Linked DNA regions of Homo sapiens: region 2 is linked to region 1. Evidence: promoter capture Hi-C in 16 types of primary human blood cells and fetal thymus (Javierre and others, 2016). All regions are on one chromosome and are shown on one strand. The core of a region is centred on a gene start or on the middle of the fragment in contact, and the rest is flanking DNA. Distances in the headings are between cores, read along the strand shown.

What was found. Contacts are between HindIII fragments. The CHiCAGO score rates a contact against its expected background, and 5 or more counts as called.
Region 2: a fragment that was not itself captured here is called in contact with the fragment with the promoter of WDFY4 in region 1 in 1 of 17 cell types (total B cells); the score reaches 5.1 in total B cells.

What each region holds. Positions count from the first base shown.
Region 1 is chr10:48,681,717-48,687,122 of GRCh38, forward strand. It overlaps WDFY4 (WDFY family member 4), which reads left to right and starts at 3,157. Exons shown (of 62, transcript NM_001394531.1): 1 at 3,157-3,285. RefSeq lists enhancers at 2,079-2,158, 3,089-3,388, 3,407-3,947 and a silencer at 2,379-2,428. The HindIII fragment of the contact is 16,271 bases long and covers 1-5,406 here.
Region 2 is chr10:48,755,262-48,760,667 of GRCh38, forward strand. It overlaps WDFY4 (WDFY family member 4), which reads left to right. Exons shown (of 62, transcript NM_001394531.1): 13 at 5,086-5,179. Among named protein-coding and RNA genes, the nearest start is that of WDFY4, 73 kb to the left of the region's middle. The HindIII fragment of the contact is 560 bases long and covers 2,605-3,164 here.

The DNA.
Region 1 (5,406 bases), core at 1,907-4,406:
AGATCTTCAGTCAACAAACTGGAGACCCAGAAGAGCCAATGGTGTAAGGTCCAGTCTGAGTTCAAAGGCCTGAGAATCAGAAGAGCCAGTGTTGTAAGTGTTCCAGTCCAAGGGCAGGAGATGACTGATGTTCCATCTCAAGGAGTCAAGCAGCCAAAGTGTCCTCTTACTCAGCCTTCTGTTCTATTCAGGTCTTCAACCGATTGGAAACCACCCATGCATATTAGGGAGAACAGTCTGCTTGACTCAGCCTACTGATTCGAATGTTCATCTCATCCAAAAATACCCTCACAGACATGCCCAGAATAATGTCTCGCCAAATGTTTGGGCACCTCATGGCCCAGTCAAGTTAACTCATAAAAGTAACTTATCACATGGAGCTATTTTATTTCAATTTTGAACTTGTTCCAACTTTATGGCTTTTATTCTAGGCTGTGGTTCTTACTTCTTCAGTGTGGAGTCTGAGCTTCAGAGTTTTATGGTTTTAAATTTCCTCTCATCATTACCTTCATGTTTAGCCTGCAGGAGGACTCCTCTGATTGGTGTTTCAAGTTTGGTCTGCGGATTGGGGAGGAAGGAATACAAGAGGGCAGCTCTGAGCTTGGTGGGGTGAGGGCTCTGAGGTGTAAAGTGAAGTCCCACAATGCTCAGCAAGGTCTCTCCACACTCCATGGGATGCGACTGCAACATTCCAAGCACTGCACATTCTCTGTTACCTCCTTCAGTGCTCGGCCTTGGGTCAGTTGACCTCTGCTGGGTCTCTTGGAGTCTCACCCTGTGCACACATAGGAATCCTTGGCCAAGGGCACACACAATGAGTTCCCACAAGGCACACTCTCCTCAGGAACCTGCCCTGAACATACCAGAGCCTTCAGCAGCTTTGAACTCTGACTTAAACCTTTTCAGTTCAGGGAGACTACTGTCTCTGGGGCCCCACCTGCCTGCATCATAGCAGAAAAAGCATCACTAGAAAAAACTCCAGGGCAATTGTGGGGCTCACCTTGTGTGTTTTCCTTATCTCAAGGATCACAGTCTTGCTATTCAATGCCTGAAAACAATTATCTTGTGTATTTGAACTATTCTATAGTTGCTTTCAATGGGAGGGTATGTCCTATACCAGTTACACCACCATAACTGGGTGCAGAAGTAAAACTGCCATTTTGGGGCAATTGTTTAAAAATCAGAGAATCTTACATTGCCCTTTAACAAAAATACACATTTACATTAGCAGTTCATAGTTGCCCTGGCTGCTTCAGTGTCTTAGCTTTGGCAACTCTCTCACTAATAATAGCTTGCATTTGCACAGCCCTTTTCAGTATTTAAAAACTCTCTTGGCCGGGTGCGCTGGCTTACGCCTGTAATCCCAGCACTCTGGGAGGCCGAGATGGGCGGATCACGAGGTCGGGAGATCGAGACCATCCTGTCTAACACGGTGAAACCCCGTCTCTACTAAAAATACAAAAAATTAGCCAGGCGAGGTGGTGGGCGCCTGTAGTCCCAGCTACTCAGGAGGCTGAGGCAGGAGAATGGCGTGAACCCCGGGGGGCGGAGCCTGCAGTGAGCCGAGATCGCGTCACTGCACTCCAGCCTGGGCGACAGCGAGACTCCGTCTCAAAAAAAAAAAACCTCTCTTGCAAATATTATTTGATTTGTTCCTTCTAACAAGGCATTCATTCATTCTGCAAATAAGATGTCAATTATCTCAGTTAAGATAGTGAGAATTTCAACCTTGAGTTTCTAGCTCTGAATTTAGTGCTCTTTACCTGCCTGCTGCTGGCTACCCGGCAAGGTGCTGGGGTGGGTAGAAGGTAGGAGACCTGGGTGCAGGTGGGCCCTCCAGCAGACTTTGCGAGATCCCACTATGACAGACTCTCCGCGCTTCCTCTGGGCATTCACAGGCATGGGGTCCTGGCCTGTCCCATGCTGGCCACCCTTCCTGCCTCTGTGGAAGTTCCTCTGTCTAATCCGCTCTTACCATAGGCCTCTGATTTCAGGCAATATCTTCTTGTAGATTTTATTTATGATTTCATTGGTGACAATGACGAGGGGTTTTCATCATATACAACAAACACTTCACTGCAAATTCTCTAAGGTTTTCTCTTTCCCTTGGCTGGCACTGCATGTATCCTTTCAATTTCTCTTTTCTTTTCTTTTTTTTCTTTTTTTTTTTTTTGAGACGGAGCTTCGCTCTTGCTGTCCAGACTGGAGTGCAGCTGGATAGATCTCCTATTTTGGCTGCTGTCTACTGACAAGTTTGCACTGGTGGAGGTTGAGGTTTTGTGACAAATGTTATTTTCCTCTTTAAACCAATCTTGGAGCTTTACTCCATGTCATAACAAGTGATGTTGTTGCTGCCTCTCAGTCAGTCATGCATGGTCCACTGGTTTTGTGAGCTAGAGACAAGCGATGAGCTGCACTGAGGATCAAGGATCAGGCATTAGCGCTAACAAGTGCCCTTGCTCTTTGGCAAAATTCTCCTTTTACAGAGCACAAGCAGGATTGTGTGTGAATGGACATGCTTGTTTGTACTGTGGAGATGACGTTATGGATAGGTGACATGGATAATTCAGCCTAGTTTATATACTCAGAGGAATGAGAATTTGGAGTCTGAGTTTCAGAGACTTCCATTCTATGGTTTTAGATGTCCTCTCATCCTTGCCTCAGTGTTGGCCGCAGGAGGACTCCCCTCATTGGTGGTTCAAGTTCTATCTGAGGATGGGGGAGGAAGAAATCCAAGTGGGCAACTCTGAGCTTGGTGGGGTGAGGGCTGCCCAACCCATGCCATGTCCAGGGGTGCACTTAAACACACCTCTGATTAGATTCACCTAACACCATCATTGTTCTCATTTTGCCAGAGGCCCAGAGAGGAGAGGTGTGCACCAGTGGTCACACGGCTAGTGAAGAGGGGACACAGAATCCAGACCTACTCTTCTAGGGCTGGGCTGTACTTTCCATTTTGTCCTTGGCCCCAACCAGCACCGCTTGACCACGGAGGCTGCACAGCCAGCCCCAAGGGGCCTTGCTGCAGAACCCAAGTCACCCGCCAGAACTCCAGCAGCTCCGTGGTCGGCTGGAGAGTGGGCAGAGTCAGGCATCTGCCGGCTCTCCACTTCTGCTTTCTCCAGGAAATGAGCAGAGACCCAGCTCCAGTGATTCAGAGTGAAACGGCGCTGAGGACTGACGATGTGGGGCCGGGTCCTCTTCCCCCGAGCCTGAGGGGCTGCAGCTGGGGATAGGGGGCCCATGCCTTCTGATGTCTACAGGCGCTGACGGCCACCCCTCCAGGTAGGCCACCTTGCTCTTGGCCCAGCCAGGCCAGCCTAGAGGTGGGCATATGGGCGCCGCCTGTCAGCGTGGGGCCTACTGGCTGCCTCCTGGGAGGCTGACTATGGGGCACATGTGACCCAGTGCCTGGTTTGGGTTTGTGAATGTGGGAGAGGAGGTGAGCTGGGGAGCAGGAAGTGTGTGTGGCGTGGGGGGCCCATGTGGTCAGGGCCACTCCAGGGCCTGGGTCTGCCTGAGTGTGTGTCACTGCTGAAGTTTGGGAGTCAGGCTGGGCTCCAGCAGCACTCCTCGACCTCTGACGGTAGGTCAAGTCCTTTCTCGGGGTCCTGCTATGAAGGGAACCCTGGGAAGGGCTGACACGGGCTTTCCTGGTTGTCGAGGGGGCGGAGAGAGCAGGCCGACAGGACAGTGAGGCTCGCCCTCCAAGCTCCCTCATAGGCCTCTGAGGAGTGCAGAGTTGGAGGGCCATTTCCAACGGGCCTCAGAGGGAGCTGGTCTATCCCGGCCCTGTCATTACTCCACTGGGTTCTGGTAAGTAGGTGCCTCCCTGGGCTCACTTCCCTCATCTGAATTATTACAGCAAACCATTGAAACGCCTGCATTTTCTGCCTAAGCAGGGCCACCTGCTCAGTAAGGACTGATTCTTCTTTTCCCCTGAAATGAAACTTCTAGAACACTAAACCGATCCTTTGTCCCAACTCATCTAAAGTGTGGGGGGGCTGGTTTGATAACTAAGGGCTCTATGCATTACCCTTTCCATGGAGCACACTAATTTTAATATGAGTTTATGTATAGTCATTCATTTAGTTATTTAACAAATAGGTATTGAGAAACCACGCCCTGCCAGGCTCTGGTCAAAGCGGACAGGGGTCTACGGTGCTCAGCAGGTGGGAGAATAGCAGGTAGGGTGGGGGTCTTGGGAGGGTGGGGATGGCTCTAGTCTTCTGAGAGGGGACCTGTGAGGGAGGCCGAGTCCTGTGGGTTTCTGAGAAGTGTTCTTGATAAGGGTCTGGAGGAGGAGACCTCGTGGAGGTTGGTGTGGCAGAGCCGGGTAAGGGGCATGCCTGGGGTTCTGGCCAGAGAGGTAGGGAACAGGGTCAGGTCAGGGAGGCCCTTCCTGTCTGTCCATCCTGAGCACATGGGCTATTCTTTCATGAACTTGGAAAGATTTTCTGTGTTGAAAGAAAAGAAAATTTCGGCCAGGCGCAGTGGTTCACGCCTGTAATCTCAGCACTTTGGGAGGCTGAGAGGGGCAGATCACCTGAGGTCAGGAGTTCAAGACCAGTCTGGACAACACGATGAAACTCCATCTCCAAAAAAAAAAAAAAAAAAGAAGGAAAGAAAAGAAAATTTAGAAAGACCATAATAAGATAGAAGTAATAAAAACAGCATAAACCCTGTGTGCTGACACCTTAGATTTTTTTAAAGATCAGCATCATCTCTGAGGTCCTCTTCATGCCCATCTTTCACCTTCCCTCTTCAGAAGCAGCAACAGTCCAGAATTTTGGGTTTATTGTTCCCTTGCTTCTTTTTCTAATTTTACATCCCATATTTAAATCGCTATATATGTATGATTGCAAGTTGTTGAACTCTGTAAACATGGAATTAAATATTCTTTTAAAATTTGCCTAATTGGTTCAAAAGTTTGTTTCTGAAATTTCTTCATATTGTTGCATGTACCTGTAGATAATTAAAGTTTTCTGCAGTACAGTATTCTATTAGATGAGTGTACCTCAATATATTTATCTGAGATGCTGTTGATGGCATTTTAGGTATTTCAAGAGTTTATTTTTTTTTCTATTATAAGCAGTGCCGCTAGAACTATTTTTGTACATGCATCTTGGGGCATGTGTGCAAGAATTTATCTTGGGTATATACTCTAGAAATAGAATTGGTGGGTCATAGGTTGTACATATCGTCAGCCTTACTGGATGTCACCACGTTGTTTTCCAAAGTTTTTGCCTCATTTTACCCACCCCTCAGCAATGCACCAAAGTTTCTGTTGCTCCACTTCTTCATCAGCATTTGATATTGTCTGGTACTGTATTTCTGCCAATCTGGTAGAAATGAAAAGCTATCTTAGCATGTTTTTAATTTGCATTGACCAAATTACTAAGGTTG
Region 2 (5,406 bases), core at 1,635-4,134, 73 kb after region 1:
CTGTTGCTGAGTAGTTTTCCATTGTAGGGATGCAAATGTTTCCTCCCAGCCTATAGCTTATCTATTCATCTTTAAATAGGGTCTTCCACAGATTGAAGGTTTTAAATTTTGATGAAGTCCAAATCATCATTTGTTTTTACTTTTATGTATTGCACTTTTATGTCATATCTAAGATCTCTTTGCCTGACGGCCATGAAGATTTTCTCCTATGTTTTCTTCTAAAAGTTTTACAGGTCTGTAATCTGTTTTGAGCTACTTTTTGTACCATGTGTGAAGTTTAGATTGAGATTCATTTTTTGTTTGTTTGTTTTTGCTTATGAATGTCCAATTCTTCCAATGCCATTAGTTGAAAATATTATCTTTTTTTCCATTGAATTGTCTTTATAACTTTGTAAAAACTGCTTAGCCATATTTATATATGTCTTTGGACACTATTTGATTTCATTGACTTATGTGTCTAGCTTTTCACCAATATTGTCTTGATTACTGTGGCTTTGTAAGATATCAAATGCAAGCTCTCCAAAGATATTCTTCCTTCTCAAATTTGCTTTGGTGATTTCAGTTCCTTTACCTTTGGCTGTCCTGATGGAACCTCGTTATTTTATATATAGGTAGGTATTGTTTGCTGATTGTTGAGGATTTTTGCACCTATGTTCATTAGGGATACTGACATGCAGTTTTTTTATACTGTGTTTTTCTGTTTTCAATATCAGGGTAATTCTGACTTTGTAAAATGAATTGGGAAGTGTTCCTTTCTGATACCATATAAATGTTAATGATCAGCTTGCCTATATCTACAAAAATTCCTGCTGGGATTTTTATTGGAATTGCATTAGATCTATAGATCAATTTGGAGAGAATTGACAATTTAACTATAGTAAATCTTCCAACCCATAAACATAGTGTGCTTTTCTGTTTATTTAGGTCTTTGATTCTTTCATCAAAGTCTGTCATATTCAGTGTAGGGCCTGCACATGTTTTCTTAGATTTATACCAGAGTCTTTTGTTGAACACACTTCCAAAGGGTATTTAAAATTTTTTGGTTTCTAATTTTTCAATTCTAGTATTTAGGAATATGGTTAACTTTTGTATGTCGACTATTATTCTGAGACTGCTAAATTTAATTATTAGTTCTAGAAGTTTTTTTTTTTATGGATTCCTTGGGATTTTCTATGAAGACAATCTCATCGTCTGTGACTAGTGCCAGTTTTTGGTCTTCCTTTCCAATCCATATGTTCCAGTATTACATCCAATAGCAATGGAGAGATCCTTGCTTGTTCTTAATCTTAGGGAGAAAGTCTTCAGTCTTTGCCATTGAATATAACATCAGCTATGGGAATTTGTAGATGCCCATTGTTAGGTTATAAACAATTCCTTTGAATTTACTGAGAATTTCTTTTTATCATGAGCAGATTTTTAATCTTTCAAATGCTTTTTATGCATTAAATGATATTATCATGTGATTTTATTAATATGGATCATGTTGACTGATTTTTGAATATTAAACTTGCCTTGCATTTACGGGTAGTCCAATTGGCCATAGTACCCTCGTTATTTTATATGTAGCTAGGTATTATTTGCTGATTGTTGAGGATTTTTGCACCTATGTTCATTAGGTATACTGAAATGTAGTTTTTTTATACTGTGTTTTTCTGTTTTCAATATCAGGGTAATTCTGGCTTTATAAAATGAATTGGGAAGTGTTCCCTTCTCTTGTGTTTTTGAAAGAAGCTGTGTAGAACTGGTGTTATTTCTCTTTTAAATGTATGGTAGAATTTGCTGGTGAAAACACTGAGCCTCAAGGTTTCTTTGTGGGCAGGTTTTTAGCTACATATTCGGTTTTTGTAATAGCTATAAATGATTTAGGCAACTTATTTCTTCTTGTTGAGTTTGGTAGTTTGTGGCTTCGAAGAAAACCGTTTGAAGGTAGTTTATGACTTTGAAGGAACAATTACTGAGAGGAGTGTTGAACTCTCTAACTATAATTGTGGATTTGGCCATTTGTCCTTTCAGATCTATGAGTTTTTCTTTCTGAATTGTGATGCTCTGTTGTAAAGTGCAAACACGTTTTGAATTGTTATGTCTCTTTTAATCATCATATCATATAATCTGTTTATTATGAGTCATTTTCCTTGCTCTAAAGTCTGTTTTCCCTGATATGAGTAGAATTACACCAGCTTTCTTTTGATTACTGTTAGGATGGTATAAATTTTTCTATCCTGTTACTTTTAACCTATCTATATCACAATATTTAATGATGGCATATAGCTTTGTTTTTATTTCTTTCCATTCTGACAATAGTGTCTATCAGTTTTTAATGTGTTTGAATTATTGATGTGTTTGAATTTAGGTTCAGGATTTTATTGTTTGTTTTCTCTTTTTTTTTACTCTTTTTTTGTTCCTCTACTTCTGTTTGCCTGCCTTTTTGTGGACAATTTGAATATATTTTAGTATTCAATTTGAGTTTATCTACTGAATTTTTTGACTCTCCTTTTTTGTCTCTCCTTTTTTTTTAGTGCTTTCAATAGGGACTGCAGTATACTTAATTAACTTTTAACAGTCTACTTAGAATTGACATTTTACTATTTCAAATGGATTATAGAAAGCTTACCTCTACGCCGTTCCCTCTATCCTTCCCTATTTTTGTTGTGGTTGTCTTATGTATTACATCTAATACAATGTCACTTTCAACCATCATACCTAAATTTAAGAACTTAAGAAGAGAACAATAATAGTGTATTATATTTACCCAAATATTTACCATTTCTGTTGCTCTTTCTTCATCCCTGAAGTTTCCTTTCATTATTTTGTTATTATTTTCCTACCATCTGAAGAAATTTTAAAAGTATTATTCTTAGAACAAGTCTGATGGCAAGAATCTGTCTTCCTTCATCTGGGAACACATTTATTTTGCCTTCATTCTGGAAGCATGTGGATATGGAATTCTGTGTGTATTTTTGTAGCACTTTAAAAATGTTGTTTCCATGACTTCTGCTTTCTTATGAGAAAATCCAAGGTTATTCAAATTGTCGTTCCCTTAAATGTAATGTGTTGTTTTTCTCTGGCTGCTTTCAAGATTTTTAAAATTTTCTTTAGTGTTCAGCAGTTTGATTGTGCTGTGTCTGGGCATAATTTTTTTTGTTTATTTTATTTGGGTTTTGCTAAGCTTCTTGAATCTTTAAGGTTATGTATTTCACCAGCTTTGAAGAAAGAAGTACTAAAAACTTCTCAAACGTTTTTTCTTTCATACCATACTCTTTCTCGTCTCCTTGGAGGATTCTAATGACAGAAATGTTAGATCCTTTGTTACACATGACCTTGAGTCTGTCTTTATTTTTAGTAATCTTTTTCCTTTTTGTTGTTCAGATTAGGCAACTTGTATTGCTCCATCTTCGTGTTCATGGACTCTCCTCTCATCTCATTCTCCTATTGTTCTCATTTAGTGAGTTTAAACAAATTTCAGTTGTTGTGTTTACTTGATTCTTTTTTATTGCTTCTATTTATTTACTGAAACTTTCTGTTTTTCATTTATTTGAAAAATGTTCACTCTTACTTCTTGGAATTGGGTTAATAACTGCTTTAAGGGTTTCGTCTGATAGTTCCAACATCTGTGACATCTCAGCATTGGCATTTGTTGGTTGTCTTTTTCCACATGAGATGTTGAGACTTCCCTGGTTCATTCTATGTTGAGCAATTTCAGGTTGTATTCTGGACATTTTGAATCTTATCTTATGAACTCTGGTCTTTGTTGTCATCTTATAGAGAATGTTAATGAATATATATATATATATCTTAAGGTAGGGAACTAGCCCACTTAGGTTCAGGTTGCAAGTTTCTGCCCATCTTCCCTGGACTCTCTGGTTCCAGTATCAGTTCAGTTTTCAAAGACTGCAGGGAGATTTGATGTGCGCTCACTTGCTTCATGCAGTAACTGGTTGTGTGTGGTGGTTTACCTCCTAGTTAGGGTCAGATGCACATACACAGTCAGAACTCAGCCCAGAGGTTAATATACAACTTTGTGGTTACATTTTCCTCAGCTTCCTCTTCTTCATCCTTTCCTTAACACTTGCTGGCTCCCAAGGGGTCCCTTCCTGCTCTGTCTAGAATTGGCGCTTTTGTTTCTCTGTTCTTCCCTGTGTCACTGGTATCTGTCTCTGGGGCCATGCAGTGAGGGGAGAAAAGGAGAAAAGAGCAATGGGAATTTTACCTACACTCTTGGGACTACAGGTCCTCTGGTCAGAGAGAAAGTTTCTCTTCACTGAGAGTTTTAGAGTCTGCCTGGCTGCTGCTGCTGTTGCTGATGCTGAGGGAATTGCCTGAAAGATGGGTTGGGAAAGAATGGGGAAACCAAACAAAGAAAATCCCAGGGGATTTCCTCCATGCTCTGTGACCTGTAAAACCTCCTTTCCTGCTCCTCAGACCAGAAACAGAGGACTTCTCTTGGAGCTCTTTCCATCATGTCTACACCTTGTGCACAGTTGCGAGTTTTAGGCTACCTGTGAGTTCACACCAGGGGATGCTGCAGAGGGGAAGCCCAGAAAGCTCACTGCCAGTTCATAGTGCTTGAGTTTGGTTTCCTTCTCGGCTACCATTTACTTTCCAGAGTCCTCCAAGAGCTGCTCCATGAGTTCTAAGTGTTTTAGTTGCATTCGGTATTCAGGGGGTGGGACAGAGCTGAGTGTGCTTACACCATTTTGAAGGGACCCAGAAGCCTGTGTGTGTGTGTGTGTGAGTGAGTGTGTGTGTGTGTTCAATATGAAACCAGAGCTTCTCAATCTCCAACGTATCTGGAGGGAAGGGAAGAAAACCAGGGAACTAACTTCACTGAGCATCAACTATGGGTCAGGCACTGTGCCTTGGAGCACAAAAGCATTCTTCTATGACTGTAGGGGGAAAGTGTGGTACTGTCAATGCCTTTTAGAGTTGGAGGAAATTAGGCTCGATGGAGTAGTTCAATGTCATCTAGGTAATAAGACAGGATGTGTACCATGATCTGTCTTAGAAAGAAAGATCCAGGAAGCTCAGTGAAAATAGAAAGAAACTGGAAGGTCCGTGTCTCATGTCTGGCTCTCCCTCTCTCTGCAGGATGGATGAGGGAGATGCTGCAATCATGCATCCCGGGGTCGTGTGCATCATGGTGAGGCTGCTGCCTCGGTTGTACCATGAAGATCACCCACAGGTACCTGGTGTTGAATATGTGTGTTTTGTCATCTTCACATGACTGATCTCTCAAATGCCTTCTGACCCAAGACAGCTTTTTTCCTTTTGTCCGTGTCTTCAGTGCCCTGCGTTAGCAGAGCTCCCCATGGGAAACACCTATAGTGGGAAAGTACCAGGGTGTCCTGGACACTTGACTGAGTTGTGCCCACCCTTGCAAGGCCATCCAAAACAGATCACTTCTGTTAA